Linked DNA regions of Homo sapiens: all the other regions are linked to region 1. The links are contacts of gene promoters, found by promoter capture Hi-C in human tissues and cell types (Jung and others, 2019). All regions are on one chromosome and are shown on one strand. The core of a region is centred on a gene start or on the middle of the fragment in contact, and the rest is flanking DNA. Distances in the headings are between cores, read along the strand shown.

What was found. Contacts are between HindIII fragments. The study calls those that stand out against the background at their distance.
Region 2: a contact is called between a fragment that was not itself captured here and the fragment with the promoter of TENM4 in region 1, in 1 of the 25 tissues and cell types used here (IMR-90 fibroblasts).
Region 3: a fragment that was not itself captured here is called in contact with the fragment with the promoter of TENM4 in region 1 in 1 of the 25 tissues and cell types used here (IMR-90 fibroblasts).

Annotation. Positions count from the first base shown.
Region 1 is chr11:79,438,489-79,442,279 of GRCh38, reverse strand. It overlaps TENM4 (teneurin transmembrane protein 4), which reads left to right and starts at 1,250. Exons shown (of 34, transcript NM_001098816.3): 1 at 1,250-1,771. RefSeq lists silencers at 1,122-1,291, 1,552-1,661. The HindIII fragment of the contact is 13,466 bases long and covers 1-3,791 here.
Region 2 is chr11:79,067,412-79,071,202 of GRCh38, reverse strand. TENM4 (teneurin transmembrane protein 4) reads left to right here. Exons shown (of 34, transcript NM_001098816.3): 5 at 1,194-1,481. The coding sequence starts at 1,259. Among named protein-coding and RNA genes, the nearest start is that of TENM4-AS1, 24 kb to the left of the region's middle. RefSeq lists an enhancer at 898-1,454. The HindIII fragment of the contact is 6,519 bases long and covers 1-3,791 here.
Region 3 is chr11:79,104,377-79,108,167 of GRCh38, reverse strand. The region is part of intron 4 of TENM4 (teneurin transmembrane protein 4); the gene reads left to right. Among named protein-coding and RNA genes, the nearest start is that of TENM4-AS1, 13 kb to the right of the region's middle. The HindIII fragment of the contact is 5,008 bases long and covers 1-3,791 here.

The DNA.
Region 1 (3,791 bases), core at 1-2,500:
CCACGTTTATAATCTGTGATGCCTTTATAATCAGCATATGGCAACTGGCTAGACAGTCTCCTCACCACACAGAAGAGTTTTCAAAATAGCCTACCCCTCCTTTCACATTTATGTGAAATTAGCATTGTCACATTTCCTCCTTCATTGACTACTTTAGATCAGAGAGACACACTGTAGCAGAAGATCATGAAGGAAGTTGTCTTAAAGAAGGAAACTAACATAAATTAAGCATCTCATATACACCCAGTGCTTTCTTTCCATTGTTCTCTCTTTTAATCCTCACCAAAACTGGTGAAGTCGGTATCATCCATTTTATAGATGAGAAAACTGAAGCCGGGTAAGGGGAAATGGCTCGCACTAAGTCCTTTAGCCAGCAGGCAGCAGGGCTGGAGTGGGAATTCCTCCAGTCTCTTCCCCAAAGCCCTTCCAAGTTGCCACTCAGTCAAACTACCGCTCTCATCACATAAAAATGCCCTTCTCTTGGAAATGTGCTTGCCATCACGATCCAAACATTCGAGGGACAGAAATCTCTTGGACCGCAATCACTGCTATTTTTTAAGTGATTGTTATCACGACTCAGTAGCTGTTACCATGGTTTTGGGGAAGTTGTCCGAGGAAGGAGGGCCTTTCTTTGGGCATCTTGCATGCCTGAAGAAGGAACTCAAGATCTCAGCTCTTAATTACTCTGATTGTGCTGCAGTAGCAACTTGAAAGAGACCGTCCCTAGAAAAGTGTTGGGGTGGGGGGTGTGGAGTAACATCCAGCGAGCAGGCAGAAGGGAGGCCCTGGGCGCCAGAGAGACCCAGGGAAAGGCGAAGAGGAGGGAGAGGGGACGAGACCGTGCTACGGGGAGCCTGGAGAGAAAGCCAAAGGAGGAGGAAAGAACAAAAGGCAAGAGGAGAGGAAGTACAAGAAAGTCCAGAAAGGAAAAGAGAAAGTTTCAGAAAGGGGAAGAGAAAGCAAGCAAGGAGGGTAAAAGAAGAAAGAGACCAGAAAGATACCGAACTGAGAGAGCTCGGAGAACTCGAGAAAGCAAAGGAGGTAAAAGGAGAGAAGATGGAGAAGGCGGCGGAGAGGAAGGGGGAAGGAGACAGAGGAACCGAGACTGGGGTGAGGGAGCGGCCGCGCGTGGCCCCCGGAGAGGCGCCCATCACCTGCGTGGCGCCCCCCCGCGCCGGAGTGCGGCCCTGCTCCCAGCGCCAGTGCGCCGCGCGGCTCGCCGGCCTCGTAGGATTGGCTACCGCCTCCCATTCATGTAACCTGCGTGTGCGTGTGCGTGTGTGTGTGTGTCTCTCTCTCGCTCGCCCTCTCTTTCTGTGTGTAAGAGAGCGAGGGTGGGGGACGGAGGCAGGCAGGCGAGCAGGCAGGGAGGGGAAGAAGAGAAGGGAAGCTATTAAACACACACACACACACACACACTCACACACGCGCGCGCACACACCCGCCCCAACCCCCCAGAAGCCTCGGGATTGCAGCTGTTTCATGTGGGGCAGCAGTGCTGGCAGGGACGCCGGCCGGGAGCGGCCGGGAGCGGGAGCCGGTCGTGCGCGCGCGGCTGGAGGCTCGCTGGGGCTCCGCTCCCCGCGGGAGCTATTGTTGGTCTCGCTGGAGCTGAGCGCAGAGCCCGGACCTGCTCCTTCCTGGGCGCCCCGCTACGGCTCGCGGAGCAGAGGAGCCGCGCCGCCGAGAGAGAGAGGAGCCACCGGCGCGGCGCCTTGCCTCCCTGCCGCCGTCCTCGCCGCTTCCCCGGCGGTAGCAGCCTGCAGCCACGGTAAGGCGGCGTGATCCGCTCTACGGAAAAGCGCCTTGGGGACCGCGGCGACGCCTCGCCAGCTCCATCGCCCTCTGCACTGCTGGCCCGGGCAGGGTTCGGGTAGCTCACGCGGCTGCCGAGGGCTCCGGGAGATGTTTGCTTGCTCCCCTGGCCCAGGAGGAGGGAGGCTAGGGCGCGGGTGGCCGAAGAGGCAAGCTGTTCTGGAGCCTGGAGCCGCCGCAGCCCCCGGAGCCCGCCGCGGACTGGAGCCTGGGAGCAAGGGTTGGGGGAGGGCAGGGAGGTGGGAAGCGGGTGGGAGGGAGGCGGCGCGCCCCAGGTTCGTCTGCCTCTCCCGGATCCCGTTCCCCGCCCCGGCCCGGTCGCCTGCAGCCCCTCTGCAGACTAGCTCGCCCCAGGCCCCCGTCGGGCGCTGGAGGAGCCCGCGAGGCGGCGCCGGGCTTCAGCGGCTGCAGCCTGCCCTGCGGGGCAAGTGCCGGCTGCAGCAGCCCCGCACGGGCGGTGGTTGGAGCTCAGATCCTGGAGATGCGACCCCAGCTCCTCGCCCTCTGCAACCCGCGGGGCGCCCGCCTCTCCTCACCGGGCGCCCGGCCGCGGTATTGATGTTCGTCTAGGAGCCAACTGAGGCTGCAGCCGCCAGATGGACGCTTGGAGGGCTCCCGGGTGTGAGTGTGACTGTATGACTACTCTCACCCCCAGCTTCGGGAAATGTGCTCTGGGTTGAAATGTGATCACCGAGCTCCTCAGTCATTTTAATTGCCATTTTTAAATGCGGTCGTTACATTGGAGGAGCAGACTGGAAGGTAGTGGGGCGGCGTGTGTGTGTGTGTGTGTGTGTGTGTGTGGACACACACACGCAACCGAGGAATACACAACCAACTACTTGGGTGAAGGGCGGGGGGTTCACCTAGTGAGTCCTTCTTGGCGGGGGGGTCGGGCGAGTTAGCTGCCCGCTGCCCGCCCCTTCTCTGCCTGCCCCCGCCTAGGCGAGGTTGGAAAGTACTGGAAATTCAGCTGCGTGGTCCTTAACTTTGGAAATTGGCTCCGCTTTCAGGGCAAAATGTTAAGGCGATTTATGCACCCGCGTCCATGTGGATGAGTGTATTACTGCTCAGTTGGGTGCAGAGCCCTCAACAGTACCGCGCCAAGCCCCCACCCGATCTCTAACTCCCTCCCACCCCCTAACCGTGGAGAGAGGGTTTATAGAAATGCAGTTATCTGTAAACCATCGACGCAGTGAAAGGGGCGCAGGGAGGCAGCCAGAGTTTTGCCTGAACCTGCATACTGGCTTGGTGTTTGTAGCACACGAGATCACCCCGCTGCTTTGTAGAAGGCGGTGGTGGGGCAAGCTCGGGATTCCAATCGCCGGGGTGGGGGGTGGGGGGAAGAGGGTGCCCATGTACTGAGCTCTGAGGCCGAGTAAGGAGAGAGATCTGCTGAGCGGCATCGCGGGCAATTACATAAGCTGCCTCGGTGATTACCCGGAACTGTGATGCGAGCTCCCGGTTCTCGAAAGACAAGCCTGAAAGTTTGCCTGCTTGGGGAGTGTAAGTACCGGGGCGCCCCCACCCCGGCCTGGGTAGCTAGGATACGCCTCGCACCACGGCGCCCACTTGTGCGATGGGCGTCGGGTGCTGATGCTGCTGTCCCCAAAGAACCGGTTACCGAGGCAGGGACTAAGTGGGGGCATCCGGAATTGATCGCAGAGGAGGAGTCAGTCAGAACTGAGGTTTCATTGGGTCTTCAGAGCTCCAAGTCTTCCCTCGGAGGTGTTGGAAGGCCTTCCAGGGAACGCCGTTTTCAGAAACTGACTTGGTGTCCTGGGGAGCCCCAAAGCCCCTCTTTTCCGCCCTTCCTGGGCGCCCCTCCTTGTCTTTCAAGCCCTGTGCCCTTCACGTGTTTAGAAACCTGCCCGCGGTGCCTGGTCCCCCTTGGAGATGCCCAGGCAGCCCAGCCATCCAGGCCCACGCTGGCGAGGGGTTAGAGGGAGTAGAACGCTGGCTCTGCCGGGCTGCCACCC
Region 2 (3,791 bases), core at 725-3,224, 370 kb after region 1:
GCTTTCCTTCTGTATTGAGCTCCTGGCCCTGTATGGTTGTGTTTGCTACCCCAGAGCTCAAAGAAGACATTTGGAGGGAGAAAGAGGGTGCTATCACAACTCAAAAATCCAGGGGTGTCAGTGTAGGGCAGAAGGGTCAAGATGGGGAAAAGAGGAGAAAGGGCTATTAGGAGCTTCCCACCAGTCAGACCTTCTAGCAACACCCAGATGGATGGGGCAGACACTGTGCTGCCCAGTGCTGACGGTGGCACTGAGGAGATGGGCAAGTCTGGAGGTGAGGGACATTCTCTGAGTAACTGGAAGGGCACTTTTGTGTACTAAGAGTAGGAGGGAGACGTCTCAGGGAGGCAGAATGGAATAGGAAAAATGCAGGCTTTAGAGCCAAACAGATCAGAGTTCCAATCCTGGCTTTTTTACTTGACACCTAAGTGACCTTGAAGGGGGTTCCGAGTCTCAGTTTTCTCATCTGTCAGATGGGGATGGTTAGCTGGTTAATTAAACACATCTTTATTATGCGCCTACTGTGTACCAGCCCTTGTTCGAGGTGCTAGAGACCAGGAGTGAGCAGTACAGGTAAAGTTTCTGCTCTCATAGAGCTTACAGACTAGCAGAAGGAGATGGGCAAAAAGCAAATAATTATATAATCATCTGGTAGTGGTAAGTGTGGGTTGGTTGTTTATACCTTAGCTCGTTTCCAAAAGAGGTTGGAGAGAGTAATAACATCTCAGAAGATATCAAGATTTACTAAGATAATATATGCAAAGTGCTTACCCCAGTGTTTGCATGCAATCATTCATCTCACAGATTTTTAAGGAGCCCTGGGCCAGAGCTGGGTCAGGCCCTGCTCCATGTGGGATGTGATGGGAACCAAACAGGCTTGGTTCCTACCTAGGAATATTACTAACCACCAGTGCCCTTTGGCCTTTGCTGTCAGCTTCCTCGGTGCCCATCACTGGAGGAGGCCTCCTCAAGGTGAATAGGCTAAGTAGCAAAAAGGGCCAGGATTTGTAATTAGAGGTCCTGGGTGCGACTTTCCTTTGCCACTTATGGGCTGCGTAGTGGTGGAGCGGTACCCTCTCCTCCACTGCCTGGGGTTCTCTGTCCACAGGGCTGCAAGGGTGAATCCAGGACCAGGATGAACCCGGGAATGTTCTCTGCCTCTCACGCCCTATCTTTGGTTTCCCTGGCTCTAGACCACTCGGCCCTGAGTGCGGCGAGGACCCTGTTTGTGGATGTGGAGGAGCGCGGGCCGGAGGCCATGGACGTGAAGGAGAGGAAGCCTTACCGCTCGCTGACCCGGCGCCGCGACGCCGAGCGCCGCTACACCAGCTCGTCCGCGGACAGCGAGGAGGGCAAAGCCCCGCAGAAATCGTACAGCTCCAGCGAGACCCTGAAGGCCTACGACCAGGACGCCCGCCTAGCCTATGGCAGCCGCGTCAAGGACATTGTGCCGCAGGAGGCCGAGGAATTCTGCCGCACAGGTAAGGACAAGGCCGAGGGGGCGGGCCTCAGGCGCAGGTGAGCTTGGCTCAGGTAGGCATGGGCTCGGGTGGGCGTGGCGCAGGTGGGCGTGGCACAGGTGAGCTGGAACACCAGTTGGGGTGCCATATCAACAGCAAGTTTCTGCCATTTGGGCACTTGGACCTGGTAAAAAGCCTGCCCTGTAGTTCATTCTTAGTTCATTTATTTTCTCGCTCACCCACTTCCCTGGCATAGTGAGGTGGTTAGGAGCTGGGCTCCAGTGTTTGTCTACCTGCCTAGAGTTGAGTTAGGCTCCCCTCTAAGCCTCAGTCCTCAACTGTTACATGGCCGTGAGAAGCCTCCCTAGTGCACTGAATTGTCCTGAGGACTTAATGAGATGGCCTTTAAGTGGTAAGCCTGATAATACCAAGTAAGCGCTGAATAAATGTTAGTTCCTAGTTTTGCTGTTCATTCAACAAACATATTTAGCAGTTTCTTTGTGTCAAGCCCTGTGTGACCTTGAGAGGAAGACCTTCCCGAGATGGTTAGACATGAAAACTTAGTAATTTGTAGGATATTCTGGTGCCTGGCTCCCTCTCCTGCACTTTCTACCTACAGTAGTCCCCAAAGCCTATCCATCCTGCCCCAGTATTCAAATCCATTCTTCTTAGCCATTCCCTCTGATACTTCCCAGTGCAAACCATTATCATTTTTCTTGGAGGATTAACCACAACCACCCCCCTTCACCCAGAGCTGCCCGCCTCTAGCCATTCTCTGTACTGCAGCCAGATGAAGCTTGGGGGTGACTCCCTGTTGCCCTTAAACTGAGCTCCCCCTAGCATAGAACTCTTTCCCCAAATCTGTTTCTGTTTTTCTAGACTTTTTTTGTCCCCTAACTCTCCACACTCCACCACTCATGGGCCAGCCCTGCTGAACTGCTCAAGTTTCCAGACCTGCCATGATATTTCTTTCCTACCCTGGTGCCTCGGTGATTCCTGTTTTTCTGCCTGCAGAGGCTTGAGCCCTCTTTGATGCCTGTTGGGTCATGACCAATGCCTGACAATTTGTGCAGCCCACCCTGATTTGCTCTGCCCTTCTCCCCCTTCACAGACAGGGTCAGCTGAGCACTGTGCTATGTAATGTATATGCATTTTGACAGTGTTATTTAATTCTCATAACAACCCCAGGGTGAATCATTTGCCCAAGATCACAGAGGTAAGAGGAGCTGGCCACACACACACACAGAGCACACCTATGACCTCTTCATTTCCATTCTCTCCCACAGGCCTGTATCCATGTGAAAGCTGACCTGTTCTGCCTGTGAGGCTTGAAAAATGAGCAGTCCCTTTCCCAGCTTATGGTTAAGGCTCCAACTCTGGCATCAAACAGACCTAGATTTGAACTGTGGCTCTGCCATTTTTAGTATTCTCAGCTACTTTACCTGTGCAAAGGGATAAACAGTACCTAATAGGTGGTGAGGATTGATGAGAACTATAAATGAAACACTTGACACCAGTACCTGGCACAGAACAGATGCTTCAGAAATGCTGCCTGTTATTCATTGTCATCTCTGGATCTCACTGAAGAGAAGAGACAAAATGGTCTCTGAAAGCTTTTCTTTTGCTCCGTCCTGTCCGTAAGTGACAGAGCTCAGTGAGCCCCGGTTGGCTTGGACCTAGCACATGAGGCTCAGGGAAGGGGCGGCTCCTTGTCTTTGTAAATAACAAATAAGCATTCTCATCTCATAGGCAGGCATGTGCGTAGCAGTTTACAAAATACTCTCCTTCAAATTATCACCCTGGATCCTCAAAAATCCTTTGAAGGTAGCAGGTCATAGATTATCATCCCATTTTAAAGACAAGAACATTGAAGCTCAGGTGATCACAAGCCCAAGATTGCACAGCTAGATGTTGAGTGAGATGGGATGTCAACTCATGCCCCGGGCCTCAGAAAAGAGGCCAAAAAGGACATAAAGCAAGTAAACCATGAGGACTTCTTAAATTGGATGAAGTAAATCTTCCAAACTCACACATCAGAGGAGCTGACTGGCTCAACAGGATCATGGAACCCTTAGAGTGAGCCCTTACCTTGCATTTTCCTAGGAGTTAAGTTCCTAAGACATCCTAGTCCCGAGATGTCTTAACTCACTTGTATTGATGCTGAGTCTGGCTGCTTAAAAGGGCATGCAGGACAAGCCAGATGGAAATCAATGCAGCCCAGGCTGTTTGTTGCAAATAAATTTGATTTTTCACTTAATGTAAGAGTCATTCTTCATAACACGTGAGTGGCTTCTCTTTGAGAGGGCCGGCCGAACAGAGCACAGATAGAAC
Region 3 (3,791 bases), core at 706-3,205, 330 kb after region 1:
GGGCACTAAGGCCTGGCCACATTGACACAAAACTAAGCATCCCAGATGGTCTCCAGTTCCTCCCATTATCATTTTCCTTTTTGTAATACGAATTTTGGAGGGAGACAACTTCAAGACTATGTAAGTAGTCCAACCTTTTCCCCATGAATTAAGCATCTATTGCTAGTTCTTGCCAGGATCAATTTTTACTGTGACAGTTACATAAATAGCTTTCTCTTGGAGAAGGGATTTGGGAACCTGGCTTCAGATCCCAGTGCTATCACTTAGCTGGCTGTGTGGCCTCAGACAAGTTATCTGATTTTCCCAATCCAGGGTCCTTCTTGCTCAAATAGGGTTGACAGTACTTGCCTCAAAGCTTGGAATGTTCATTAAATGCAATAACGTGTGAAAATGCCAGGTGCAAAGAAGCTATCCCATAAATGCGTGTGGCATCAAGGGCATTAGACACATCCATGCCTCAGTGAAGTGACTATGATCTTACTCCTGGGCATCATTGATGAGCGGAGTGATCTGAGACCACTGGGAAGGTTCTTTGAGGAAAGTCATTATCTTTTTTAGCCATTCTCATCATGGACACAAGGTCAAACCCTGCTGAATCAGGGAACATTGACCCTCTGTGATTGAGACACTGTTGGAAAGGCTTTCCCAAAGCTAGTGATATCCTAGCTGAGTCTTGAAGGATAAGACTGGAAGTCAGACAAGGAAGGAAAATATTTCCAGGTGAGGGGAATGGGATGTGCCACAGAGGTGGGTGGAGAGATGGGGAAGGAGAATTTTGGAAACTTGGGGAGGTACCATTAAGTTTCCAAAGAAACTCACAGAGGGGATCGTCTGTTTGTATTTTTTCCTATTAATGCCACTATGATTATGATTATGATTATGATTAGTATTCTCAAGTAATGTGCAGTCTTGTATACAGTAAAAATAAATTCATTATTCCTTGTGAGAAGCAGCATGCCATAGTGATTATGATATGGACCCTGTAGCCATGCTGCCTGGATTCAGATCCCAGCTCTGCCCATTTACTAGAAATAGAACCGTGAGCAAGTTAACCTCTCTGTGCCACCTGTTCCTCATCCATAAAATGGGGATGATAGAAAGAGTAACTTCCTCCTAGGATTGTACTGATGATGAAGCAAGCTCATGTTTGTGAAGGCCTTAGAACAGTTCCGGGCAGGTGCAGAGTAAGTGCTGCATACTTATTTGATAAATAAGAAAGTATATTCTAGACAATTACTCTTTGGTCAAATAGTTATTGTTTTCCTTTCACTAACCCATCAAAATATTCATGCTGTTCTTCATCTCTAATCTACTTACATTATAGCTCACTTGGCAGCTGCCATGAAGAGGTAAAGTTACCAACAGGCTGTTGTAGAAAAAGCAGAAGATGCGGGTCAGCAGATGAGTTCTTGTCCCATCTCTGCCATTGCCCTGCACTGTGATCTTGGACAAGTTGCCATTCCTTTCTGAACCTCGGTTTTCCCATCTGTAAAGTGGGAGAGTTGAGCCAGCTGACATCAAAGAGCACATCCAACCCTAAGCCCTGAGTGTTGGTGACTTGCTCAGTGGCTTCCCTTCAGGGACAGGCAAGAGGACCGACGTCTGTCAAGCACCTACTATGTGGCAGGCACTGCTTAGCTCTTTCCTCACATGCTTCTTCCTGTAGTCCTCCCAGCAACACAACAGGAAGATAGCATATCTTTGCATTACACTTGGAGACACTGAAGCCCTGAGAGGTTAAGCAGCCAGCTGGTCACTCTGCTGGTAGGGGGAACACAAGGACCCCAGCCTGGGACTGCCTGTCCCTAAGCAGCCTTTTTCCACTAGGCTGGGCTTCCTCCCAGAGGGTATTCTGCAAAGGTGTGATCCATGAATAAAAGCATCATTACCCAGCTATGCTGGGGAGATTCCTGCCCTCCTTCCCTCATCTAGGTAGCTATGCTCTGGCGCTAGACTTGAGTTAGGATCCTGCCTTTGCCACTTCTTCACTCTGTGACTTGGAGCAAATAATGTTACTTTCTGGGCTTCAGTTTCCTGGTCTATAAAAAGGAGATAATGATTTCCACTTCATATGATTATCTTGAGGCTTGAAGAGAGCATGTGTGAGACATTAGCGTGGTGACTAGAATCTAGGTAATTTGTTAAAAATAATATAACTTCTTGTTTGTGGTTGTATGAATCAGTGGTTCTGATTTTAAGATTTCATGGAAAAGCAAAATGTCAAAATAAAAGTTTCCAACATTTTGTTTTACTTAGGTAAGCCTTTAGAACATAATTAGCATCTCCTAGCACCATTAATTCATAATACTAAGTAGAGTTCACCCGGCATAAGCTGGTTCTCTCAACCAGCCAGCAACACTGTTACCTTGCTCTTGCAAACTGCTGCTCAGAGTCAGCCCTTTAGTCATCTGGTTTAGGGCAATAGCTGCCAAATTGAAGTTTGGGGACTTCTTTACTTCAAACCATGGGGCTGAAACCAGCTTGGGGAAGGGGGAAAGACATAGGCACTGACCAGCCTGCCTCATTTGGCAGGCCCCTACCAGCTCCACCTTTCCCTGACCTGAGCCTCATCTGCAAAGTGAGCCCTTGTTTTCTCAGCCAACCTTCCCAGCATCAGGAGCAACAAAGGTGGAACTTATATTATAGCTTGTGATGTGCTGTTTTTATATGAAGGATCAGCATCACTCTGCTATCTGACCTCAATGAAGGCAGGCAGGGCAGAGCTGGGAGGGCTGGGGAGAATTGGATTTGAATTATGTGAACTCTAGAGGATGAGAAGTCAGTGTTTCCACACATCCTTTGTTCCTGTGTTTCCAAACTGTAGTTCTTCACCCAGTGTCAGACTGGATTTGCTTGAGCACACAGGTGATGGGAAGTTGTTGTATTTAATAGATTTCAGCTCAACTAGAATTGCAAGGAAGCAATAACAGAAAAGGGAATTCCAAATGAAGCCAAATTATATTCATTTGTTTTACAACAACTATTAAATATGTTGAGAGGGTGAAAATAATGATTTCACCCTTTCGAACTGAAATTGGGGTTCGTTGGTGGCTCACACCTGTGCTATATTGAGTTGTGGGTTTGGTCAGGTGTGATTATAGAACTTAATTGTAAATTGCATCTTTCTGGCACATGCATGAATGTATTTATGTATTCTAAAACCTTTTAAAATCATTTTTGTAAAAATAATGTCTATGACTAAAACCTCTAATGGCTAAGTCACTAGCTCCAAGCAGCCGTTCAGTTGAGGCTTAGAAACTTCACAAGGGTGCTGGACAGTATTTGCCCAAGGGATGGAGATGAGCCCACCTCCTATCTCCTTCTCAACCCCCTTGGAGCCTTGTAAAGTGCTTTGTGTACAGTAGGATCGCTCACCTGTGAAATGGCCCCATTCTCACTACTTAGCCAAAGCCTAGTAATATCACATACTCTTTGACCCACTAATAACGTTTTAATGGAAATAAGCAGAACATCATGCAAAGGCATTTGCAGCAAGATGCTCATTGGCAGCATTGCTTATCATAATGGGAAGACCTGGAGCAACCTAAGTGTCCACCTGCAGGGTCCGGTTAAATCAATGAGGGTTACTCCATATGGGGAAATAGCATGCCTCCTTTAAAACCAGTGAGGCCCAGCTGTGATATGGATGTGAAAGATACTCATGGTATAGTAAGTGAGGTGGGGAAGCAGATTAGAAAGCAGTCTAAATAGAAAGGTCACATCTCTAATGTTAAAAACGTGATCGTATGAGCATACGTAGATGCAGAAAATGTCTAGAAGGATAGCTATGC